2 separate regions of the Homo sapiens genome follow, and region 1 is linked to region 2. Evidence: promoter capture Hi-C in 16 types of primary human blood cells and fetal thymus (Javierre and others, 2016). All regions are on one chromosome and are shown on one strand. The core of a region is centred on a gene start or on the middle of the fragment in contact, and the rest is flanking DNA. Distances in the headings are between cores, read along the strand shown. Region 1 overlaps BORA (BORA aurora kinase A activator). Region 2 holds the start of SLAIN1 (SLAIN motif family member 1).

Region 1 (6,112 bases), core at 3,129-5,628, 5.0 Mb before region 2:
TGTAGCTACATTCTGTGGTTGACGATATAGCTACTAATACATTAGAGAAGAAGCTGCATCATCTAATATTCTGTTCTCACTTATTTGGCAAACATTATTTGAGTGTTGCTATGTGTCAGATACAGTGCTAAGCAGGGATTACACTGTGAACAAGTTAGGATCATTAGGCACAAATCCTTAAGGAGGTTATACTCCGATGTATGGGTCACAAACTTTCTGTTAGGGGCCAGACAGTAAATATTTAAGCTTTACAGGTCATTTGGTCTCTGTCACAACTACTCACTTCTGTCTTGTATCACAAAAGCAGCCATAGGCAATGTGTAAAGAGATAAATGTTACTCTGTTCCAATACAGCTTTATTTATGGACACATTTGAATTTCATATAATTTTCACATGTCACAAGATATTTTTTTGTTTGTTTTCCCAACCATTTGAAACTGTCAAAATAATTCTTAGCTTGCAATCTATTATAAAAAGAAACTAACCCCTATTTTAATGTGTTAAACAGAACTAGATGAGTAATATCAAGGCAGTGTGATAGGTGATATGATTAGTACTTAGGACAATAGTAATATGAAGGAAAAGTGTTCTTCAGGATATTAGAAAAGGCTTCATCACTTTATCTTTTTTTTTTTTTTGGTAGAGATGGGATTTCACCATGTTGGCCAGGCTGATCTCGAACTCCTGACCTCATGTGATGCACCCACTTCAGCCTCCCAAAGTGCTGGGATTACAGGCATGAGCCACCATGCCCGGGCCACTTTATCTTATTTTACTGTTATTTGCTACACTGGATAAGTTCTTTTGACCTTGGATCTTTCAACCTACCAAGTTACTTAGAAAAACTGCAAATAGGGTGGCTGTTTCTGCTACACTTTCATACAGGTTTTACAATGAGCAAGTATGTACTAGTGGAAGGTCGAGCAGTTTATATTGAGTCATTTCATCAATCTGACCTTATGATTTTTAATTGAATCATTAAAATTTATCTCTTGGTCTTACTAAAAATAAATAATAGATTGACGGCAGCTTAATCCTCAAAGTTGGAATGTATGGCATCTTGCGTTTTTAGGACTGAATTTGCCTAGAATATATTTCTAATTACAGATTAGGATTTGGATAAACCTTTAATTCAGTTGCATGGTTGAGTACAGAAAGGCAGCACTGGTTGCCATTCATAATTATTTTAAGGATCAACTATGTTGTGAGCTTTTGCAGCCACCTCCAAAGTGACTAAGGACTTTAATTTCAGTTCCTTCTTAGTGAAAGTAAAGACGTTTGTTAACTGTGAGAGATTTTTACTTTTACATGGGCTTAGTTTATCACACTGATGAGTGTTAATTGTGAAAGTTTTATATCTTTATTACTCTGTTGTGATTTTTCTCGTATTACGTAATTCCAACCCAGGTGAAAGATTCTGATATTTTAAAAGAGATACAGGCTGGGCGCTGTGGCTCATGCCTGTAATCCCAGCACTGCCAAGGTGGGCTGATGACTTGAAGTCAGGAGTTTGAGACCAGCCTGGCCAACATGGTGAAACCCCATCTCTACTAAAAAAAAAAAAAAAAAAAAAATACAAAAATTAGCTGGGTGTGGTGGCGGGTGCCTGTAATCCCAGCTACTCAGGAGGCTGAGGCAGGAGAATCGCTTGAACCGGGGAGGTGGAGGTTGCAGTGAGCTGAGATTACACCAGTGCACTCCAGCCTCGGTGACAGAACGAGACTCTGTCTTAAACAAAGAGAGAGAGAGATACAATTAAGTCAGTTGATCGAATGTGATATGATTACCCTTTGCCATTTAATTTCATGGTAAAGTCAAATTTTAAAATACAAGCTTTAAAATATTTTCATATTATAACCATTCATATTATTTCTCACATAGGTTAGCATTTTGATGAACTATTTTAGTTTGCCTTTACTCATAAGCTCACTTTCTTTTGTTAAGACTCCAGGGAAATTTAGATGGTCTATTGATCAACTAGCTGTAATAAATCCTGTAGAAATAGACCCAGAAGATATTCATCGTCAAGCTTTATACTTAAGTCATTCTCGGTAAGTTTTCCTTTCTTGCACCTAAGTCTAATAACACTCTCAAGTGAAGAGAGGTAGGAAATTCTAAATGTTGAGTATTTTTCTATGTAAAGGTATCAGGGAGAAAAAATTTTGATGCAGATTTTTTCTATCTAAATGAATGAGTTCAAAGAACTACATTCAGAAAGATTTTCTTGCCAACAGTTCCAGACCTGAGTAGATACCTTTTTCTTTTACAAGTAACCTTTTCCCTCTGCTACTGAGGTGACAGCTCTGTACCCCTAGCACTCAGTTAAGAGAAGAACATTTTGAAATTTGCACTTTTCTACATGGTTGTGGCTTCTGCCATTAACTTGTTTCAGTTTGTCTTTTTGATGATTTGGGGTAAAGCAAAATGCTGTTTCATTGTTATCTATGTTTGGGGAAACCTAAAACCCCCTCAAAGAGTTACGTATGCACTGAATGGAAGGGTATCCATTAGCAACAGAGCGGTTTTTTAGACATCATCCAACTGTAACAATTCACTTGGAATCTGAATTACATTTTCTAGAATTCTACATATCACCCAGTGCAGTCTTATTTGTTGATGTGTTGTTTAGGTTTCAAGGCACTAATGTACTGCAGATTTAGTTTTTTATTACAAAGTGTAAGGTCCTATTATTCTTTTGTAGTTTTAGGGACTCTTGTTTATATGTTTTATAGTCTGATTTTTTAATATTTGAAAAAAATCAAATACATGGTATGACCAGATTTTAATTTGCTGTCCTAAGGTAGACATGTTGTTAGTCCAAAACAAAGGATAATCCTTTTCCCTTTGACTTAAGAATTCAGTCACACAACGTTGCACACATATTGAGATATTCTGGTAAATACTTACTGGCTTTTCTCCTCCATCTTCTCTTTGCTTGGTAACATGATGACCATTCAATCATAAAATTAATGTCCACCCAGAGTGTTAATAGGAAGGGAATAGAATGAGGATGAAGCATGAAAGGATTTTAACTTAAATTTAAATAATACCTTTGAGGCCAGGTGTGGTGGCTCACACCTGTAATCCCAGCATTTTGGGAGGCTGAGGCGGGCAGATCACTTGAGGTCATGAGTTCAAGACCAGGCTGGCCAACATAGTGAAACCCCATCTCTACTAAACATACAAAAACATTAGCCGGGCATGGTGGTGCACACCTGTAATCCCAGCTACTCGGGAGGCCGAGACAGGAGAATCGCTTGAACCCAGGAGGCAAAGGTTGCAGTGAGCTGAGATCATGCCATTGCACTCTAGCCTGGGGGACAGAGCAAGACTCCATCTCAAAAAAATAAAATAAATAAATAAGTAAATAAATAATACCTTTGAAAGAGAAGGTGAGATGAATATCTAAAAGCAAATGAGTCACAGTGACTAATTTTTTGTTTCACACGAACTTAATTATGCTTAATTATTTTGTCTCATTTCTTCAATATATTGAATGATGGACAATTATTATATTGATCAGTCAAGAGATACTTATTGAGTACTGTGAGGGACTGTAAGAAACACTGAAGAAGTACAAGATACTAAGAGTCAAGAGTCAAAAATATAATTAGACCAAAGTTGTAACACAGTGCTTCTGTTCTTACTACTAAATGATATATTGTCTGCAAAGGTTTATAAAGATAATCTTGGTGTCTCTTAGTACATAGATTTATCATATAGAAGAATGGAAAAGAGTGGGAAAATATTATAATTTAATTTAATAATATAATTCAATGAATGGTTATGGCTTCTACCAAGGATAGTCAATATATTCTTCACAGAGCATCTCGTTTCATCCTTAGAAACAAGCAGTGTCTTTCAGTATCTCTTCTTACATATTAGCCCTCTACTTCAATTCTTCCCATCCTTTTCATGCCACCATCCACACAGAAAATTGTAACTGAAAAGCATACCAGTGTAAGCAGGTGAGTCTTGGCCATGTAGGTGACCAGTCCTGAGGTCCCCTCTCCTTTGCCACCCTGCAAAGGCTCAACATTCAGGCCACACCTATACCTATATGCATCATACTGGTGTTCAGTGGTATGCTGGTCAGGATGCTCTCCCCTGTATGACTTCTTAGAATCTTGTTTGATCTGACTCTAGAGTATTTGGCCACAGTGATTTTTACAGTTTCCAGCAATCACCTGAGTATTTCATGTTCTTGAAGTCCCTCTGATGAAGTAGCAAAAGGTTTCTGAATGCAGTAATCCTAGTTCAGAGCTTACTTGCTATTTGCTAAGCTTGTTATGTGCTGCCATTTTGACCATGATAAGATGAAGAGAACCATTGATAAGATGAAGGCCATTTTGTTATCCTCAAAATGGCTACTGTTCAAGCTGGGATATGTGGGTTGACACTGTAGTTTATTTTCTCATACTTCTCCCACTTGAAAAATCTACTTAATTTCTGAAATGTATACATTCTCATATAAGCTTTATTAAGCCATGAGCAAGTCTATATGTGAAAAAAATTCACACCATGGAATACTATGCAGCCACAAAAAGCATGAGATCGCGTCCTTTGCATGGACATGGATGCAGCTGGAGGCCATTATTCTTAGCAAACTAATACAGGAACAGAAAACCAAACCCCTCATGTTCTCACTTATAAGTGGGAGCTAAATGATGAGAGCATGTGGACATATAGAGGGGAACAGCACACACTGGGGCCTGGTGGAGGGTGAGAGGAGGGAGATCAGGAAAAATAACTGATGGATTCTAGACTTAATACCTGGATGATTAAATAATCTGTACAACAAACCCCAGTGACACAAGTTACCTGTGTAACCTGCATTTGTACCCCTGAACTTAAAATAAAAGTTAAAGAAAAAATTCTGAGACAAAATAATTTTAAATTGTAAAAAAAAATATGTCTTACCAATTTACTGATGGAAGGCAAGGATTCTTTCCTGTAATGGAATAAAGAAGTGGTCCTAGAAAGCTAACTGCTGAGTCCTTGGCAAGTATATGCTTTGTGCTTGGACCCAAAATTTTATATTAAATCTTGTAGCTGAGAAGTTTATATAACAGTAATTGCAGATTGTATCAAAGTGAAAAAAAAATTCATTTGGAAAAAATGTTATATTGTCAGTGTTTTATTTCAGAGTTAATATTTTTGACTGTTTAGAACTGTGAACTATCCTCATCTATTTTACAGTAAAAGTTGATTCTAAAATTATTGCCATGATAAACTTGTTATAATTGAAGAGAAAAACTTTGGACAATTTTTAGATGTATGTTGAATTAAATACTTCTTAATTTGTATTAAGGGACAAAGTTTATCAAATTTATATTGTTAAAAGCAATTTAATATCAATGTAAGTCTTTTGAAATAAAGTATCATTGCATTCAAACTTTGAATGGAAAAGAGGGAGGTAAGCCTAACAGCTAACTGCTGAATTTCAGAATACTGCCTAAATGTTACTAAATGTTACAAGATACCACTAGTATTAATTATAAAGTGAGCTTAACATTTGCCAGTTTTCAATGAAGGGAGATTATTTATTTGAAAGGTTATTTTTTAAAATGTTCAATAAGCTTAAGTAATAGCATGGTTATTTTTCTTCTTTATCTTTGTATAGAATAGATAAAGATGTGGAAGACAAAAGACAAAAAGCCATTGAAGAGGTAACTTAAACTGTTACTGATCATTAAATCAGTTAAGGATCAATTCTGCATGTACATCACTTCTTTTAGGAAGACTTTCTTCAATTCCTTCACTGTCCTATCTCCCCTCCAAGCCCTTCACAGTCCCATCTATATAAAGCACCCTTCTGTACTGTCCTAAGACCAATAATTTCCAGCTATCCCAGTACCTTGCATAGCACTTGCATACTGTTGTAATGATCAGTTTAGTGTTTCTGTCCCCTAGACGCAATCTTTTTTGGCCAATACTGTACTTCATCCTTTCATTCTCAGGACCTAGCACAATTTGTCTTCCTTGTGCCTTCAAAATGTTGATTAGCACAAACTTTGTTTCAAGTTGGAGTTTATGTAGAGGAAGTCGAATATTCTCAGGCCTTCAGAGTCTAGATTGGCATTGGGAATGGCTTTGTCTTTTTTTGTTAAT
Region 2 (6,717 bases), core at 3,199-5,698:
GACAATTTAATAACTTAATAAATGTAAAGGGCTTACAGCAATTCTTGGCATTTAGTAAGCACTAGATAGCTTCTAAGATAAATTGTAGAAAGTTTCTTTCTAATGGCAGTAATACATGTGTGAGCTATTCATAAAAACAAAACAAATCGACCACAGAGGAAAGGATATAGATTAAGAATTAGAGCTGGGTACTATTTCCTAGTTTTCATCCCATGAAGACTGATAAATGAATATCACAATACTTGCCCTGATGCCTTAGCTAACAGCTTGATGAGGAGAACCAAATGAGATAATGAATTCTCTTAAATGAGGAGATCCAAATGAGATAATGGATTCCTTCCTTCCTTCCTTCCTTCCTTCCTTCCTTCCTTCCTTCCTTCCTTCCTCCCTCCCTCTTTCTCCTTCCTTCCTTTCTTTTCTTCCCTTCTCTTTCTTTCTTCTTGCCTTCTCTTCCTCCCTCGCCTGCCTGCCTTTCCTCCTCTCTCTCTCTTTCTTTTAGAGATGAAATATCACTATGTTCCCCAAGCTGGCCTTGAATTCCTGGGCTCTAGCAATCCTCCTTTCTCAGCCCCCTGAGTAGCTGGGACTACAGACACATGCCTCCGTGCCTGGTTGAAATAATGTTTGCTTTCTACTTGAGGCCTTCCCAAAATTTTTAGCCAAAATTGCTCCTTCTTGATCACTCCCTATGCTGTTTATTTATATTTTCTTCATGATACATAACACTAATTTTTGTGTTATAGTTAGTTGCTTATATGCTTCTTTCTCCAACTAGATAAGGTCTTGATGGTGGAGACACTGTTTTCTTACTCACTTCTCAAAACTCATCTAGCACTTGAAAATAATAGACATGTAATGAGTGTTTATTCTAAAGGGCTCTTACAGGTATAGCTTGACAAATCAACAGAATGATTATTATTACTATTATTGTTATTATAACTACCACCACATGTGACCTTATAGGGTATAATTATGTGGGTTTTGGGCATGAATATGAGTAGTAGAGTTGGGTGGGGTTAGAATGGAGCAACTCACACAGGGATTTTTTTTGAATAAATTCTGACTTCTTGTATTTCTGTTTTCTCTTTCCATAATCTCCTTACATTAAAATGCAACACATTAGGTGCAGCAAGTATTTTCCTGGCTATTAACTGGGTCAGATGTAAAATAATTGATTATTATGGGATCTGCAGAAAGCCTCTAGTCTTCCTATGTTGTTACCATATGATAAATGAGGTTTATGGAAATAGCTAATTATGTGTTTGTCTAAATTCCAGCTAGAACTTGGGGATTTATTTATTGATTCATTTATCTTTTAAAATTTTTTGAGTATTTATTTGCCATGTGCTAGACACTGTGCTAGGCACTGCATATGGGCAGTGGGACCTGCAGTGTTCGAGTCTATTCTGTATGTATAAACAGGAATCTCCATGAAGAGGCATAAGAATCACTCAAACATTGTGGTTCAAATCAACTTGAAAACACAGTTGGGGATCTTTGATCTTAGTTTAACACATTAGGTTATTTTCTTTTCTTGCAGTAATTGGATCTATAAACTTGAATTAATGTAGTGCTCATATTAGGGTATGTCAGCTGCACTGATCGCAAAATTTAAACGTATGAATCTTACTCTAGGAGAAATTTTACTCTGGCCCACTAGCAACTGCTAAGAACCATCATTTTCATGAGTGAACTTGGGCAAGTAACATAACCTTGTAAGCTCATCTGTAAAACTGGGATAATAACAGGCTGTTTCTAGATTTCCTTTGAGAATTATTTTTATATACTCAAGAACCTATGGGTGCTTTTGCGATTCTGTTGCTGGATCTATTTAATGTTCATACACAGTATTAGAAATATATGTGAAAAATACAAATTAAAATAAGTTCATGTGCTTTCTTAAAATTCACTAGAGTGATGATAGTTCTGAAGTGTAATGAATAGAGAGAAACATGCATTTCTTTATCCAGTTTTGAATGTGTGATATGTGGATGTTTCACATTACCTTATGGTGTATCAAATGTATGCTTAAAGCATAAACTTTTAAATGAGACATGCACTTTCATTTTTCATATCCTCTTTGTAAACCTCTGAAATCACCTACATATTTTATTTAAAATCAAAACATTACAATTGAGCAACTACAGCATGCAATTTCTTTCAAAACACAAAGCTTACTAATTTGCATCAAAATAAAAAAATCAAGACTGCTTAATTAAAACCTTGACACCATCAACCTCTTTAATTATACGTTAAAGAGACTGGCATCCTGGGGACACCAACTTGAAATCAGTGTGCATTTTGAGTGTCTCTGGTGTGTGTACATGTGCAATTCACAGAAGGGAAAAAAAGAGGGGCATTAAGAGAAAGCAAAAACATGATTTAAATTTTCTTTAGACATTAATAATTTCACACTTTTAAAATAGGTAGGAAAAGGGCAAATTTGTCTTTTCAGAAGAATAATGCAGACTAGAATTGTAAAACAATGTTTCATCTCTTTTCTATGTCTAAATTTCAATGCATGCTTTCTTTTTAAAGAACAAAGATTTTTATGATAATTATTACTTAGAAAACAGGGTTCAAAAGCTTGGCTACTGCTTGTTGGATGTATATAGACCATATTGGGTAAATGAAGGAGGAAAGGGCTGTCTGTTTCTCTCCTTCTTTAGAGTGTATATAAATTGTGCAGTAAAATGACGGCTTTTCTTTACATCTTAATTCTTGTTGTCTTCACTATTATGTGCCTATTCCCAATTTCTTTCTCTAGTCTGGGACCCAGCAGCTCTTTGTTCTCATTGTGTCTGTCGTCTCCCTTTCTTTGTGTTGCAGGGAGATACTGCTACCCGCATCTGCCACTGAGCATGCGGGAAAAATCCTTCAATAGATTCTTTACTTAGGACTTTCAGTAGTATTACTCCATTTCTCCAGGTTTTGGTAATAACCAAAAAAAATCCTAAAGATATACCGAAACTTGGAAAGGTGATGGGTGATACAGGTGGTTAGGTGGTGGGCTAGCAAGCTGGGACACAGGGAAGGTTAAGGGAGTCATCACACGCATTTAGCTAATTTATGGAAGCGCTCACCAAGCATGTTAAATGCAGAACATCCACCCTGCACACAGAAGCTAGAGATGTAGATTAACAACTGAGAAGATACAAGTGTTTCTGAGCAGGAAGACACAAAACCATATCTGAAACCAATAGATACGATGTGTTAGCAGCTCCAGAGAAATGAGGTACATTGTCACAAAGATTGGTATGTAAAGTCCCTAGCAAGGACTTTCACTAGATAGTATATCATCTGAGGATGAGAACCAGTGGTGTAGATTTTTCTCATAATATAATCTCAGGTTTTCCTCTGATTGTGTTAAACACTCAAAATGCTAAGTCAGTCAGTATTCATTGAACACAACTCGATTAAATTCTTCTGCTTAAAAGCCTCTTTTAAAAAAAGCAGATTTGCTCGTTTTCCAAGTGGTAAGAAATAGCAGGTTTGCAGGTGAGATTAAAGTGTATTGGGTAGAATTCTGAGGTTTTCTGTTTTCTGCTTTCCCACCAGCAAGTCTGACTTTAATAACTTACACATTATTTAATAGAAGGAGCACTAAACAATTTTACTCATATTTCTCCCCATAACCATTTTTGCCTATTGTACTCATTGCCCGCATCACGAGCTCTTAGAATGGTTCCTGGCACAGAGTAGGTGCTCAAAGATCTTTTGTTTGGGGAATGCATGAATATACATAGTATGAAAAAAAAAGCAGTTCTTCTTTTATTGTGACAAACAATGATGGTAACAGTTCAAATTTGACTATTTTAGAATAAATAAGTAAACACTTGTCTCCTTAGCAGCTGGCCACTCTACCTCTTAGAGAGAGGGCTTTCTTCTCTTTCTTCTCGGTCTCCTGTCTCCCACCATTTTGCTTCTCTATTACCAATGAGAACATGAGTGGCATGGTCCCAAAGCCTTTCTGTTCCCCCTATCTCCACTTTTCGGTTTTTAGAATAACGATCCCCAGCCTTTAAGTTTTCTATAGGATTCGTTAGCCAGTGGCTATTAAGTGCTGTCACGGAGCCTAACAGAGAGCTGGGAAGGGAGCAAACCAGCGGGCCGGTGGTGCACTACTCGAGGGCCAGCACCTGCAGCTGCTTCTTTGGGAACCCCCTGGTCCCCGCAACCGCCTCAGAGACCCGCGCAGTTCACTGTCCCACCAAGCGGCAGGAGGAGGTGCTTGTGGCGGGAAAGTTCAGGCCAGGTCCAATCAGGCCCCTGGGATTAGGTAGCGAGGGTGGGTGCGGCTCCCCGGCCCCAACCCGGGCTGCCGGCCCCGCCCCCTGGGTGGGCTTCCCCACGGTTCTCCGCCCCCCCCCCCCCACCCGCCCCCTCGGCGCTCTTGCCCCGCCCCGCTCCGGGGCCGCGGCTAAAACCCGGAGCCGCCGCGACGCCCAGGGGACTGGAGGGACGCACTGAGCATGTGCAGATCAGCTCGGTGGTGGCTGCCGCGGCCGGAGGCGAGGGCCCGGTGCTGATGCGAACCGCCGGCTCGGCCTCAGCCCGCGCGTGGTCGGCCCCCCAGGCCGGGGCGACAGGGAAGGAGCCGTAGCCTCCCCGTGGCCCGAGGAGCCGGCGCGGCGGCGCGCACTCCCCGGCGGCCGCGGCGCCCTCGGGGCCCACGATGATGGCGGAGCAGGTGAAATGCGCCTCGGCAGGGGTCAGCTCTGGAGCGGGCTCCGGGCCGGTGGTGAACGCGGAGCTGGAGGTGAAGAAGCTGCAGGAGCTGGTGCGCAAGCTGGAGAAGCAGAACGAGCAGCTGCGGAGTCGAGCGGCCAGCGCGGCCGCCGCCCCGCACCTGCTGCTGCTGCCGCCGCCGCCGCCCGCCGCGCCGCCCCCCGCTGGCCTGCAGCCTTTGGGTCCTCGGAGCCCCCCGGCCGCCACGGCCACCGCCGCGGCCTCAGGGGGCCTGGGGCTCGGGCTGGCGCTGGGCGCGGGGGGCGGTGGCGGCAGCGGTAGTGGCAGCGGCGGTGGCTCCAGCCCCGCGTTCCCGGGCACCTTCTGCCTGCCTAGCCCCGCGCCCTCCCTGCTTTGCAGCCTGGCGCAGCCACCCGAGGCGCCCTTCGTCTACTTCAAGCCGGCAGCAGGCTTCTTCGGCGCGGGCGGTGGCGGGCCGGAGCCGGGGGGCGCGGGGACGCCGCCAGGGGCAGCTGCAGCGCCGCCCTCGCCGCCCCCCACGCTGCTGGACGAGGTGGAATTGCTGGATCTGGAGAGCGTAGCCGCCTGGCGGGACGAGGACGACTACACCTGGTACTGCCTGGCTCCGCTCCTTCCCCGAGACCCTGGCCTCGGGGGCTTCGGGCACCGGGGAGCGGGGGCGGGGGGCGGACGGGGGTCCCCTCGCGGCAGCCGGGGTGACTCCCCGCGGCTCCCGGAGGGGCCGACCCAGCAGGTGTTGAGCCAGGCGGTGACACTTCCCACGATGAGGCTTCTCATGAAGGCAGAAACCTGTTTTCTAATCGCTCCGACTGCGGATGAACCGGCCCCCCCTTCCCCCCATCTGCCATGGGTTCTGCTATTTGCTGATTGTTGGGTCCCAAGCTCCTCGTTAGCATTAAGTGCAAAATCCATGTCATCTTGTCTTTTTGCTCAGTGCTGCTCTTTTCCCCAGTGTTTTCGGAGGGATGACGGGGGATGGTAGGGGTTGGCCTCTGTCTGCGACTGTTACTGTTCTTTCGTTTTAAACGAACGCTGGACAGGATTTGCGTGCTCTTCCTCCTCGGGTGGCATCGGAAGCCGCGCAGTGATGGATCTCTCTTTATAGAGAGGTTCGTTCTTGCTGTTTGAATTTTGCAGTCGTGTGCCCTTTTGCGTTGCATTTTCATTGAAATCTTATTTTCAGAGACTGACTTGCTTTTTAAAATGGGGTGACCTCACTGGCTTTCCCATAAATAGTGCCAATAAAGAGGACTTTTCTTGGAGTGGAATGAACAGGTGGGAGGGACTTTTTTATTTATTTATTTATTTTTTTACCTAGGAACCAACGAACTGTCTTTAATTTTTTAAATTAAACTGTAGAAGAAAAGTGAGATTAGAGAAGCCTTATTTTCTTATTTCTTGGAAACTTTTTAGCTTGGTTATCAGAAAACTTGAGGCTGACAGCATTTATTCAGTTGACATCTGGTTAGCACTGTCTACTTTCCATGAATGAGTAACTTTAGGGGGAGGCTTGCTGTAGTCCTTCTTTACTTTAGGTCCTTTTTATGTAGGACCCTTTCTGTTTTTCCAAGCTGTGTTTTCATTACTTTCTTTGTGTCTCTGTTGCATGATTGCATGGAAGGGATTGGGAAATGGAGATCCTTACTGGTTTCCTATTGGGAACTGCAGTGTTCCTTTTCCCTTACACTCTGTCATGTGAGAGCTCTAACTGTAAAGTACATTAGTTAATTGGTTTCATTCAAGAATCAAAATATATGGAGTTACAGTAAGCCTTTCAGAGGTGTATTCATCATCCACCTTAATACTTTTTGGCAGCTGTGCAGGTAGCTCAAGGTGTAAAAAAATCAAACAACTCATCACTTTTGGGAACTTTAAGCCATTTTTTCAAAGCTGCACCCTTATTTCTGTAAAGTAATCTCAGTTTCAGTCTGAATGTGGTACTAGAAAATGCTCTCATGATGGTCCTTAGATTTCACTAATAACTCTCAGCCCTTATGCCACTTTCAA

The links. The method cuts DNA at HindIII sites, captures the fragments that hold promoters and counts their contacts. A CHiCAGO score of 5 or more calls a contact.
Region 1: a contact is called between a fragment that was not itself captured here and the fragment with the promoter of SLAIN1 in region 2, in 1 of 17 cell types (non-activated CD4 T cells). The highest score is 5.9, in non-activated CD4 T cells.

What each region holds. Positions count from the first base shown.
Region 1 is chr13:72,729,336-72,735,447 of GRCh38, forward strand. It overlaps BORA (BORA aurora kinase A activator), which reads left to right. Exons shown (of 12, transcript NM_024808.5): 3 at 1,946-2,052; 4 at 5,625-5,670. Among named protein-coding and RNA genes, the nearest start is that of BORA, 4.5 kb to the left of the region's middle. The HindIII fragment of the contact is 192 bases long and covers 4,283-4,474 here.
Region 2 is chr13:77,693,239-77,699,955 of GRCh38, forward strand. It overlaps SLAIN1 (SLAIN motif family member 1), which reads left to right and starts at 4,449. Exons shown (of 7, transcript NM_001242868.2): 1 at 4,449-5,301. The coding sequence starts at 4,676. MIR3665 (microRNA 3665) reads right to left here and starts at 4,878; the gene lies at 4,774-4,878. RefSeq lists silencers at 4,207-4,766, 4,967-5,206, 5,367-5,516. The HindIII fragment of the contact is 5,751 bases long and covers 2,585-6,717 here.